Linked DNA regions of Homo sapiens: region 1 is linked to region 2. Evidence: promoter capture Hi-C in 16 types of primary human blood cells and fetal thymus (Javierre and others, 2016). All regions are on one chromosome and are shown on one strand. The core of a region is centred on a gene start or on the middle of the fragment in contact, and the rest is flanking DNA. Distances in the headings are between cores, read along the strand shown. Region 1 holds the start of ZNF625-ZNF20 (ZNF625-ZNF20 readthrough (NMD candidate)). Region 2 holds the start of CNN1 (calponin 1).

Region 1 (6,149 bases), core at 1,854-4,353, 620 kb after region 2:
GAGCTGAGATTGTGCCAGTGCACTCCAGCCTGGGTGACAGAGGGAGTCTCTGTGTCAAAAAAAAAAAAAAATACATGCAGTGATTCTGGCAGGCATATAGACTGTCACTGCCCATACCGGTGTACAAACTGAGGCAGAAATACAAAAAGGCAAAAGACTTATGTTAGTTTTATATTTCTTTTTTTTTTTTTTTTTTTTGAGACGGAGTCTTGCTCTGTCCCCCAGGCTGGAGTGCAGTGGGGTGATCTCAGCTCACTGCAAGCTCTCCCTCCCGGGTTCACGCCATTCTCCTGCCTCAGCCTCCCGAGTAGCTGGGACTACAGGCACCTGCCGCCATGTCCGGCTAATTTTTTGTATTTTTAGTAGAGACGGGGTTTTACCATGTTAGCCAGGATGGTCTCAATCTCCTGACCTTGTGATCCACCCGCCTCAGCCTCCCAAAGTGCTGGGATTATAGGCGTGAGCCACCCCGCCCAGCCCTTACCTATATTCTTTTGTAAAATATTGAAAATGCCTGAACAGAGCCAGGAAGGGCCTCTTTTCTCTTGATCTTCATTATAGATTAACTTTCCTCTTACCTTTCTCACACAAAGACTTCATGGCCATCACAGTGTCTTAAGCTGGAATGTCAAATTTGATAATGGCTCACTGCAGCATCAAACTCCTGGGGTCCAGTGATCCTCCTGCCTCAGTGTCCCTTGTATCAGGAACTACAGGTGGGTGCAACCACACCTGTCTAATTTTTCTATTTTTCTTTTCTAGACATGGGTCTTGTATTACCAAGGCTGGTCTCCAACTCCTGGTCTCAAGCAATCATCCTGCCTCAGCCTCACAAAGCTGGGATTACAGGTGTGGGACACTGCACTAGGTCAAGAGTTTAACTTTTAGCTCCGGAGTTCTAAGCCCATTTCCCTAGAGTCTGTATTTTCTTGAATGGCAATTCTCAGATTTTCACTTAAATAATCTCCTTATAATAGGAATCTGATCATTTCAATCATTTAAGGTAGAAAAATCCAAACAAGGCGACTACATCACTGTAACCAATAAAGTATTTTTTGATTTTTATTCTAATGCACCATATAAAAGCCTATCCTTCAACCTGTAAACTAAAAATAAAAACCTAAGCTCCCCATCCCACCCCAATCAAGTCAACTGAGTGGCTCTTTACCAAGGGGAGGCCCCCCAAAAACCTGAAAGTTCCCAGTTACATTAGTAAGGGAGATCAGACACTCCATACTCCCTTCTGGAGTTTAGACACAGCAACTGACCCACATTCATATTAAAATAGACATAAGACCTGCAAAGAGGCCGGGCACAGTGGCTCAGTCCTGTAATCCTAGCACTTTGGGAGGCGGAGGGAGGCGGAGGCAGGCGGATTATTTGAGGTCAGGAGTTTGAGACCAGCTTGGCCAACATGGTGAAACCCCATCTCTACTAAAAATACAGAAATTAGCCGGGTATGGTGGCGTGCACCTGTAATTCCAGCTACTTGGGAGGCTGAGGCAGGAGAATTGCTTGAACCTAGGAGGCGGAGGTTGCCGTAAGCCGAGATTGCGCCACTGCACTCCAGCCTGGGCGAGAGTGAGGCTCCATCTCAAAAAAAAAAAAAAACCTGCAAAGAAACCCTTTGTACCAATAAATACTAAATTGCAAACAAGACCTAAGGCCATGCAAGGCAAGGGTAAAGTCACGCCTTAGAATTCATAAAATCTAGTGAAACATATCTGTTTTTTGGTGGGGATGGAATCACGTGGCAGGTAACAGACTCCCTTCACTTAAACATTCCTTCCTACCCCTTTCAAATTTTAGACACAACTTCACACTCTCAGCCAACTGCCAACTACAGAATCCCTCAACCACCTGTGCCTTCTAAGCCCCGCTTCTACGTGTCCTGCCCTGTCAGCCTTCCATGCCTTGATTGATCTTTTCCCTGCAATTCCTGTCTCGCTGAAATGAATAAAACCAAACTGCCATCGAACCTCCTGGGGACCACTTACTCGAGGCTACATGCGGTTGTTTCCCTTGGTCACGTTCTCTCATATTCGGCGTAGAACATAGTTCAAGTTATTTTGCAGAGTTTTGCTCTTTCCGTTATCAAACTGCAAGCCATGACTGGGTGTTTCTCATTCAGGAAACATTTCTCATTCATTTTTTTCAAACTCCTATTCTGAGAAGCAAAACTCTTTAATTTTTAAGAGGACTCAGTTTAGTTTGTTGCTGTTGTTTTTGTTTTGTTTTGTTTGAGACAGGGTCTCGCTCAGTCGCCCAGGCTGGAGTGCAGTGGCGCGATCTCGGCTCACTGCAGTCCCAATCTCCTCCCTCAAGCGATCCTCCCACCTCAGCCCCCCAGTAGCTGGGATTACAGGTGGGCGGCACCACGCCCGGCTCATTTTTTAAAAATTTATTTTTAATAGAAACTAGGGTCTCGGTATGTTGCCTAGGCTGGTCTCGAATTTCTGGGCTGAAGCAATCCCCCCGCCTCAACCTGCCAGGCGTGACCCACTGCGCCTGGCCTTCAATTTAGTTTTTCAGGAAAAAAGGGGGGACTGGGGACCCCGCAGCCCACCGCTCCTCCCACACGAACCACACACCCGAGGCAGGATTGCCTCCATGACCCTCCCGTGGTCTCCGCACAATCTGGGGAGACGCGGGACTACGGGCGCGGAGCTCCCCAGAGAGGGCTCCGGGGCCGGGGCCAGGGCCGGGGTCGCAGTCGCAGCGCAGAGACGGGACAGGACGCCTGGGGTCCCGGCTGCCGGCCCAACCCCACCCTGCGGCCGAAGGGACCGAGGGCCGAGCTACGCCAGGGGGACTCCGCTCTGCAGACCCGAAGTCGCTGCAGGAAGGCCTGGGTCCTGCTAGAGCCGGTTCGAGCCGGTTCCTCCCGGCCCCTCCCCCGTCTCGGGACCCCCGGCCCCGCACACTCACCATTTCCCGGCTTCCAGGTGTCCTGGCCTCCTCTCCACGGATCCCTCTAACAGTCCAGTCACAGTGCGGGCGATGGAGCGACAGAAGCTATGGCGGAGGCACCTGGTCCCTCTCGGGGCCGGAAAACCGAGATCCCGACCTCCCTTTGGTGCAAGACGCCTGGGAGTCAGGAAAGCGGGAATGCGGCCTCCCCTTCCCCGGATGGACAGTTGGCAGGACCCCGCCCCAGCGCCCCTGATTGGATGAGGCTCCAGTCCCCGTCCCATCGGTCCTGAGTGACAGCGGAAGCCCTGGGTAACAAGGCCCGGCAGAACCGAAATGACCTGTTCCAACCACAGATTATCTAAGCGAGCTCCCTCCCTGCGTCTTGCTCTTTGGGTATTTGCATTTCAGCCAAATTTGCTCCGAATTGCTAGAGGGGGTACCGTTGTCTTCCTCACTCAATGGGCTGTCCCTGCTCCTTTGTCTTGCACAGGAAATTCCAGACTCAGAGTCCAGTGGAGGTGAAGGAAATTAAAATATTTTACGCCAAAATATATTTATTTGACAGATTTTGAAATGGCTGTGGCTCGGCCGCAAAAAAAAGTGGACTGGCAAAGCTGTCTTTGGAGGGGGGGAATTTGCATCTGCAGAGAATCTCCATTGATGAAACCATGCCCTCTCCCCCTTTATTTCTTTCCCTTTATCCAAGCTAGAAGAGATTGTGACCTGAACACAGGCAGGGTGCGGTGGTTCACGCCTGTAATCCTAGCACTTTGGGAGGCCAAGACTGGAGGATCCCTTAAAGTAAAGAGTTAAAGACCAACTTGGTCAACACAAGAATACCCCTGTTTTGTTGTTTTTTTTTTTTAATTTTTATTTATTAAACTTTAAGTTCTAGGGTACATGCGCACAATGTGCAGGTTTGTTACATATGTATACATGCGCCATGTTGGTGTGCTGTACCCATTAACTCGTCATTTACATTAGGTATATCTCCTAATGTTATCCCTCCCACATCCCCCCACCCTAGACCCCTGTTTTTATTATTTAAAAATCTTTACGGCCGGGAGCGGTGGCTCACGCCTATAATCCCAGCACTTTGGGAGGCCGACGCGGGCGGATCACGAGGTCAGGAAATCAAGACCATCCTGGCTAACACGGAGAAGCCCCGTCTCTACTAAAAATACAAAAAATTAGTCGGGTGCGGTGGCGGGCGCCTATAGTCCCAGCTACTCGGGAGGCTGAGGCAGGAGAATGGCGTGAACCCGGGAGGCGGAGCTTGCAGTGAGCCGAGATTGCGCCACTGCACTCCAGCCTGGGCGACAGGGCTAGACTGTCTCAAAAAAAAAAAAGAAAGAAAAAGAAAAAGAAAATCTGTGAAGGTCAGAATTAGAGCAAGACCCATTTGGGATGCCTCCTGGAGAAAGGGTTTATGAATTTTTATTTATTATTTTATTTTATTGTATTTATTATCATTTTTTTTGAGACGGAGTCTCGCTCTGTCGTCCGGGCTGGAGTGCAGTGGCGCAATCTCGGCTCACTGCAAGCTCCGCCTCCCGCCCGGGTTCATGCCATTCTCCTGCCTCAACCTCCCAAGTAGCTGGGACTACAGGCGCCTGCCACCACGCCCGGCTAATTTTTTGTATTTTTAGTAGAGACGGGGTTTCACCGTGTTAGCCAGGATTGTCTCGATCTCCTGACCTCGTGATCCGTCCGCCTCGGCTTCCCAAAGTGCTGGGATTACAGGCGTGAGCCACCGCGCCCTGCGGGTTTATGAATTTAACAGTAAATTTAGCTTAAACTGACTCAAGTCGAGAGCTTCCTGTTGGTGAAAATGAAGGTCTTAAAGGAGAGAATAATTTCTAAACTGAGGAGGGGACAGAAGGGCATTTCAAACTCCCAGATAAATCCTTAATTTTCTCTGCCTCATCATCTGGGACTGACCCGCCCTGGGGGGCTCCATTTCAGCAGTCACAGTTTGGCTTCCAAGCTTGGAAATATCATTTACCTTCTGACAGAGGGTTTTCCTTGTGAACTGTGCATGAAGCAGGCTGCTTATCTGAACTACTTCAAATGTTTGCTTTACTTTTCTTTTGATTCCTTTATAAAATATTGCTGCCGGCTGGGCGCGGTGGCTCACGCCTGTAATCCCAGCACTTTGGGAGGCCGAGGCGGGCGGATCACGAAGTCAGGAGTTCGAGACCAGCCTGACCAACATGGTGAAACCCCGTCTCTACTAAAAATACAAAAATTAGCCGGGCGTGGTGGCACACGCCTGTAATCCCAGCTACTCAGGAGGCCGAGGCAGGAGAATCGCTTGAACCCGGGAGATGGAGGTTGCAGTGAACTGAGATTGTGCCACTGAACTCCAGCTGGGCGACAGAGCGAGACTCCGTTTCAAAAAAAAAAAAACATATATATATATATATATATATATATATATATATATATATACACACACACACTTATATATGTGTTTGTATATATACACATATATGTGTATATATACAAACACATATATAAGTATATATATACACATATATGTATATATATGTGTATATATATAGCTGCCATATAATTCCAGCTTTTCCATGCACTTAGTTTTATTCTGTTGTTGGCTTGTTGTTTTCTTGAGTGAAAATGAGTAGACTGAGAGATAAAGTATGAAAAATCTTTGGCTATCCCTCATCCCAAATTTATAATCTCTGACGACATCAGGCCTCTCTCCTCTTCCAGTGTTGGCCTGACTAGACCTCAAGGCAGACAACCTCCCCACCTCAAACCCCCTCCCCCCACCCCCACCTCCCCTGAAAGAAGGGCCCACTGAGTACAGGAAGACAACAGTGTCAGCTCTGGAAAGCCTGAAACATATTCTGAAATACCAGTATCCCCAGGGTGGGGGCCAGGCTGCAGTGCAAGGAGGAAATCCGGCTGTGGCTAGAATCTATATTTTTCTTTTCTTTTCTTTTCTTTTTTTTTTTTTTCGAGACAGGGTGTTACTCTGTCACCTAGGCTGGAGTGCAGTGCGCTGATCATAGCTAACTGCAGCCTCTACCTTCAAGGTTCAAGCAATCCTCTTTACTCAGCCTGCTAAGTAGCTGGGACTATAGTTGCAGGGCCACCAGGCTGGGCTAATTTTTTTTTTTTTTCTTTTTTTTTTAGAGATGAGGTCTCACTACGTTGCTCAAGCTGGTCTTGAACTCCTGGCCTCAAGCAGTTCTCCTTTCCAGCCCTCCCCG
Region 2 (6,202 bases), core at 1,128-3,627:
TGTTAGCTCATTTTATGTACTTTCTATTTTTTCTTTTTTTTTTTTTTAAATAGAGACGGGGTCTCGCTATGTTGCCTAAGCTGGTCTCGGGTCTCGAACTCCAGGGCTCAAGCGATCCTCCCGCCTTGGCCTCGTATTTTATGTATTTTCGTGTATGTTCAACATATCATGACATGCCATCAACTAGCACATTGCCTTAGCTCAGTGGTTGGCAAACAGGGGTGATCTGCTTCCACCCCGACCCCAATCATGGGACATTGGCAATGTGTGTAGACATTTCTTCTTTTAATTTTTCTTTTTTAGAGACCATGGTCTTGCTATCTTGGCCAGATGGTTCTCAAACTCCTGGGCTCAAGGGATCCTCCCACCTCAGCCTCCTTAGTAGCTGGGACTACAGGGTCCTGCCGCAGTGCCTCAACATTTCTGTTTATTAGGACTAAGAGAGTGCTACTGGCATGTAGCAGGTAGAGGCCAGGCATGCTGCTTGAAGTCTTACAATGAATGCCCAAGGCAGCCCCCCAACCATGAAGAATTATCCAGCCTCAGCTGTCAACAGTGTGGAGGTTGAGAAACCCCACCTTAGCCTCATAGTTGAGGTTCATGGAGCATGGTCTCAAATTCTCCTCTGCCCCTGGCCTGCTGTGTGACGCTGAAAAAGTGATTCCAAGCCCCCGTGCCTCAGTTTCCCCACCTGTAAAGCAAAGTACTTGTATTAATAATAACAGTGTCAGCTGGGCACGGTGGCTCACGCCTGTAATCCCAGCACTTTGCAAGGCCGAGGTGGGCAGATCAACTGAGGTCAGGAGTTCGAGACCAGCCTGGCTAACATGGCAAAACCCCGTCTCTACTAAAAATACAAAAAATAGCCAGTCGTGGTGGCAGACACCTGTCATCCCAGCTACTTGGGAGGCTGAGGCAGGAGAATCGCTTGAACCCAGGAGGTGGAGGTTGCAGTGAGCCGAGATAGCATCACTGCACTCCAGCCTGGGGAATAGAGACTCTGTCTCCAAATAATAATAATAATAATAATAATAATAATAATAACAGTGTCCATCTCTGAGGGCGTCATGAGAATTGAATGGATATATGTACAGAGTTGGAACATGGCCTGACATAAGGGCTGTAGTCTGTGGCATATTGCAGCCATGCCATTAGCATGTGACCGATAAACTGCATATCCTCAACATATCATTAGTGTGTGGCAGGTTGCAGACATGTCATCCAAGTGTCACAAACATGGCCTTGCCATGTGGGGCATGATGTGGGCATAGCATCCACCCCTGTGGTCCAGGGGTGAGATCTGGCTGGGTAGGGCTGTTTGACAGGGACACAGTTCACGGCCTGGGACTTGCCAACAAAGTCACCCTGTAGTTCAGGTGACACACAAGTGGATGGGGAGGGTGAGACCCAGGATCTCTTCTCCCCCAGGTCCTTATGAGGGGCTGGAGGAGACAGAACTGGGGTGCTGGACCCTCAGCATAAAGAATGCTATAGGCTGGGCATGGTGACTCATGCCTGTAAATCCCAGCGTTTTGGGAGGCCAAGGCGGGCAGATTGCTTGAGCCCAGAAATTTGAGACCAGCCTGGGCAACATAGCGAGACCCCGGGCAACATAGCGAGACCCCATCTCTAAAAAAATAAAATAAAATTAGCCAGGTTGGTGGCACAAGTCTGCAATTCTAACTACTTGGATGGGCTGAGATGGGAGGATCACTTGAGCCTGGGAGGTCAAGGCTGCAGTGAGCTGTGATTGTGCCACTGCACTCCAGCCGAGGGGACAGAGTGAAACCTTGCCTTAAAAAGACTGCTATGGCCCGAGTCCCTCTGCTGTGCCGGGCACTGTGCTGGGCATGTAACAGGCATATTCTTCTGATCTTTACAACTCTCCCATGAGGCAGGCACTATCGTTAGCCCATTTTACAGATGTGGCCATAGAGGCCCAGAGAGGAGAAGGGGCTTACCTAAGGCTATAGACTGTTGGTATCTGGAGATAAACCCGGGATGGTGCTCACTAAACTACCTTGGGTGTCAGTCCTGCTTCAAGACTCCAGAGAGATAAAGAGAGATGACCTCAGAGACAAAGAGACTCAGACCCAGCCAGAGGCCCAATGGACAGTGGGAGGGGTGGGTGGAAGAAGGCTGGTCTCTGTCTGACCAAGCCCCCCCAGAATAACGCAGGCTGCCCCCCTAGGTGGAAACAATGACACAATCAGCTCCCAATACCAAGGGCCTGACATCACAAGGGGAGGGGAAGGCAGCTGAGGTTGTGGGGGGAGGTGCCCCGCCCCTTGGCAGGCCCCTACAGCCAATGGAACGGCCCTGGAAGAGACCCGGGTCGCCTCCGGAGCTTCAAAAACATGTGAGGAGGGAAGAGTGTGCAGACGGAACTTCAGCCGCTGCCTCTGTTCTCAGCGTCAGTGCCGCCACTGCCCCCGCCAGAGCCCACCGGCCAGCATGTCCTCTGCTCACTTCAACCGAGGCCCTGCCTACGGGCTGTCAGCCGAGGTTAAGAACAAGGTAGGGCTGGAGGGCCTCCCTGGCCTGGCCCACACGTCCTGCCAGGCCAGAGCCCTGAGCTTGGGGTCCCTTGAACCCCCTCCTGCCTATCCTATGTGACTTGGAAACTGAGAGGGGAAAAGGGAGTGATATGGGATAGGGGCTGCCTGTCTCCCCCTGAACATCCCGGAGCCCCCAGCTATGGTTGGGGCTGGAATGGGGGGGCACACAGCCACACATAAACAGAGGGGGTCAGTCCATTGCAAAGATACCCACCTGATCAGTCTTCTGTTAACCCTTCGTGTTCTTGGGGGGAACAACATAGGGGGAAGACTTGTTGATTTTTCCATATCCCCCGGCCTGACAAAGAAATTGGGGAGCGCTTGAGTGCTGGGGTACCTGGGAAGTGACGCCGTGAAAGTGTGGGAGATCCTGAAGACAGAGGGGGACGGTGAAAGGCAGGAAGCGGGCATCAGAAGTGCGGCAGGGGTCTCCTGACTGTGGAGCTAGGAAGATACCTGGACACCACCTTCATGCTATGGTTGGGTAAACTGAGGTTCGGAGAGGAGAGGCAAATAGCTGGGGTCCCAGGTAAAGCAGGTACAGCGCTCGGACCCTGGACTCACCCCCCATACACCAGGATGGGCTCAGCTTCTCCCAGCTGGAGAACTTTAAGTTTCCAGCCCACTGGAATCGCCCCAACAGTATTGCCGAGGGAGGAGTTCCTGCCCCATTTGACAGAGGGGAACACTGAGGCTCAGGGTGGCTTTTCCCAGGGTCCCATGGTGAGGAAGTGGGGGACTGGGTTGGAACCTGGGTCGAGGGATCTCGGGGCTGGAGGAGGGGGCTGGTGGGGGGCGGGTCCTCGGGCGAGAGACAGATCCCAGCGCCGCCCTCCTCCCCCCCAGCGCCGGCCCCAGAGCCGCGCAGAGCCGCGCAGAGACGCCGCGCCTTATAAGGCGGCCTCGGGGAGCCCGGGCCACGCTATATAAGGGCCGGTTTGCTTTATAAAGCCGGGCTGGTGGCGTGGGGGGCGGCAGGGCCAGGGCCAGGTGAGGGGGCCGCCCCTCCCACCTCCCCCCACTCACCCGGGAGAAGAAGAGGCAGCCCGGTCCCCTAGGGGCTGGGAGCCTGGCTGGGCTTGGGCGGAGGGTTCTGGAGAAATGGGAGTGGAGTGGGGGAGGGGGGGGACAGTGGAGAGAGGGAAAAGCAGGGAGGTGGGGGGAGAGGCAGACAGAGATACTGGGAGCCTGAGACACCCTAGGGACAGACGGGGGAGGGCGAGCCAGGAGCGAGATAAGACCTAGACAAGGATGGAGGGGCAGGGAGAGGAGACAGAGCCCCACCACCCCCACCCCAGGCAGGAAACCTGGAGACAGAGAAAGACCTAGAGAGGCAGATATACAAGACCCAGGAGCCCTACCCCTGGCCAGACAGGGACTAGCCACCTAGAGAGATGGGGACCCAAGACTGGGCCAAGAAAAGACAGCGCTGGGGAAGAGAGAGACAGAGGAGTCGGGGGGATAAGAGGGAGAGAGACATACAGACGTGCAAGGGGTGGGGGCTAAGACAGAGACAAGCCCCCACCACTAACCAGAGACAGAGCCCTGGAGCTGAAGACCTGGGGGACACGGAGAGACAGAGATGTATGACCAGCACTCCTCTGCAAGCCAGCACCCAGGGACACCTCCTTAGACATCCTTCTTCCCTTCCTGAGGTGCCCTCTCTTCCAACAGGGGGCACAGAGGGGGCAGGGCTAGAGGAAGAGAAGCCCCAAGTTTGGCCTGGGCGAAAAACCAGGGTGCCGGGTGCCACCCCTCTAGCTCAGAGGATCCAGCTCCCCACACCCCACCCCTCATCTACATTCCCTGGTGCCAAACCTCAGAATGCCCGGAATGGCCCCCTGGGCAGGTGCCACCTCAGCCCTGGCTCTCAGCCCGCCCCAGCCCCCATCCCCCAACTATGGATCTGGGGCAAAATTGCCTTAGTTGGGAAGGACGAGGGAGATCAGGCTCTAGGAAGTTCAGACAGGACCCAGGGAGCCCAGGCTGCCCCCAATGCATCCTCACCCCTTTCTCTGTGCCCCCTGCCCTCCCCTCGCCCCAGCTGGCCCAGAAGTATGACCACCAGCGGGAGCAGGAGCTGAGAGAGTGGATCGAGGGGGTGACAGGCCGTCGCATCGGCAACAACTTCATGGACGGCCTCAAAGATGGCATCATTCTTTGCGAGTGAGTGAGGCTCTCGAAGCCGAGACCCTGCAACATCCCCCAACTCCATGCAGCCCCTCAACCCCCAAAACAACCATGATCCTGGAACTGAGTTGAACACTTTCTATTGGATACCTTTGGGGTGGCCAGTAATCATTGTGCCCATTTAACAGGCACAGAAAACTGAGGCTCAGGTGAAATGCATTGCACCAAGTCCCACGTGGTTTCAAGGGAAATGACTCTAGAATCTTAACCACCATGCTATATAGGGTAGGCCCATCTGTGGCCGCCAGAGTCCCCAGAAAGAGCGGTCACAGCTAAAAGGCAGCAGCCAACAGCTGTTCATGGCTGGCTTGGTGATGTGAGGAGAGATGTGCAGCAATAATTAAAGGAGGCCCTGGTTTTCTTTCTGTTTTCTTTTTGTTTTTTTGAGATACAGTCTTGTTCTGTTGCCCAGGCTGCAGTGCAGAGACACAATCTCGGCTCACTGCAACCTCCGCCTCCAGGGTTTAAGTGATTCTCCTGCCTCAGCCTCCCCAATAGCTGGGATTACAGGCACGCACCACCATGCCTGGCTAATTTTTGTATTTTTTTAAAGTAGAGATGGGGTTTCACCATGTTGGCCAGGATGGTTACGAACTCCTGACCTCAATTGATCCACCTACCTCAGCCTCCCAAAGTGCTGGGATTACAGGCACGTGCCACCATGCCCGGTTAATTTTTGTTTTTTTTTTTTTTTTTTCAGTAGAGATGGAGTTTCACCATGTTGACTAGGCTGGTCTTGAACTCCTGACTTCAAGTGATCCACCTGCCTTGGCCTCCCAAAGTGCTGGGATTGCAGGCACATGCCACCACGCCTGGCTAATTTTTGTATTTTTTTTTTTTTTTTTTAGTAGAGACAGTGTTTCACCATGTTGACCGGGCTGGTCTCAAACTCCTGACCTCAAGTGATCCACCTGCCTCGGCCTCCCAAATTGCTGGGATTACAGGCATGAGCCACCTCGCCCGACCTTCTTCTTCTTCTTCTTTTTTTTGAGATGGAGTCTTCCTCTGTCACCCGGGCTGGAGTGCAGTGACATGATCTCAGCTCACTGCAACCTCTGCTTTCCGGGTTCAAGTGATTCTTGTGTCTCAGCCTCCTGAGCAGCTGGGATTACAGGTGCCCACCACCTTGCCCGGATAACTTTTGTATTTTTAGTAGAGACGGGATTTTGCCATGTTGGCCTGGCTGGTCTCGAACTCCTGACCTCAAGTGATCCACCCGCCTTAGTCTCACAAAGTGCTGGCATTACAGGCATGAACCACTGCACCCTGCCGGCCCTGGTTTTCTCCTCGCCTCAAAACCTCATTGCTGAGGGAGGTGAAAACCCTAACAGCTCCCAAGCCCCAGTTCCACTGCAATCTTTTTTTTTTTTTTCAGATGGAATCTTGCTTTGTGACCCAGGCTGGAGTGCAGTGGCATGATCTTGGCTCACTGCAAGCTCTGCCTCCCAGGTTCA

Evidence for each region. The method cuts DNA at HindIII sites, captures the fragments that hold promoters and counts their contacts. A CHiCAGO score of 5 or more calls a contact.
Region 1: a contact is called between the fragment with the promoter of ZNF625-ZNF20 here and the fragment with the promoter of CNN1 in region 2, in 2 of 17 cell types (neutrophils and total B cells). The highest score is 6.9, in neutrophils.

What each region holds. Positions count from the first base shown.
Region 1 is chr19:12,153,628-12,159,776 of GRCh38, forward strand. ZNF625-ZNF20 (ZNF625-ZNF20 readthrough (NMD candidate)) reads right to left here and starts at 3,104. Exons shown (of 8, transcript NR_037802.1): 1 at 2,929-3,104. It overlaps ZNF625 (zinc finger protein 625), which reads right to left and starts at 3,107. Exons shown (of 4, transcript NM_145233.4): 1 at 2,929-3,107. The coding sequence starts at 2,931. RefSeq lists a silencer at 2,624-2,793 and enhancers at 2,770-3,461, 3,024-3,133. The HindIII fragment of the contact is 6,672 bases long and covers 1-4,898 here.
Region 2 is chr19:11,536,474-11,542,675 of GRCh38, forward strand. CNN1 (calponin 1) reads left to right here and starts at 2,378. Exons shown (of 7, transcript NM_001299.6): 1 at 2,378-2,517; 2 at 4,603-4,724. The coding sequence starts at 2,455. RefSeq lists enhancers at 1,349-2,294, 5,068-5,187 and a silencer at 3,354-3,403. The HindIII fragment of the contact is 23,519 bases long and covers 1-6,202 here.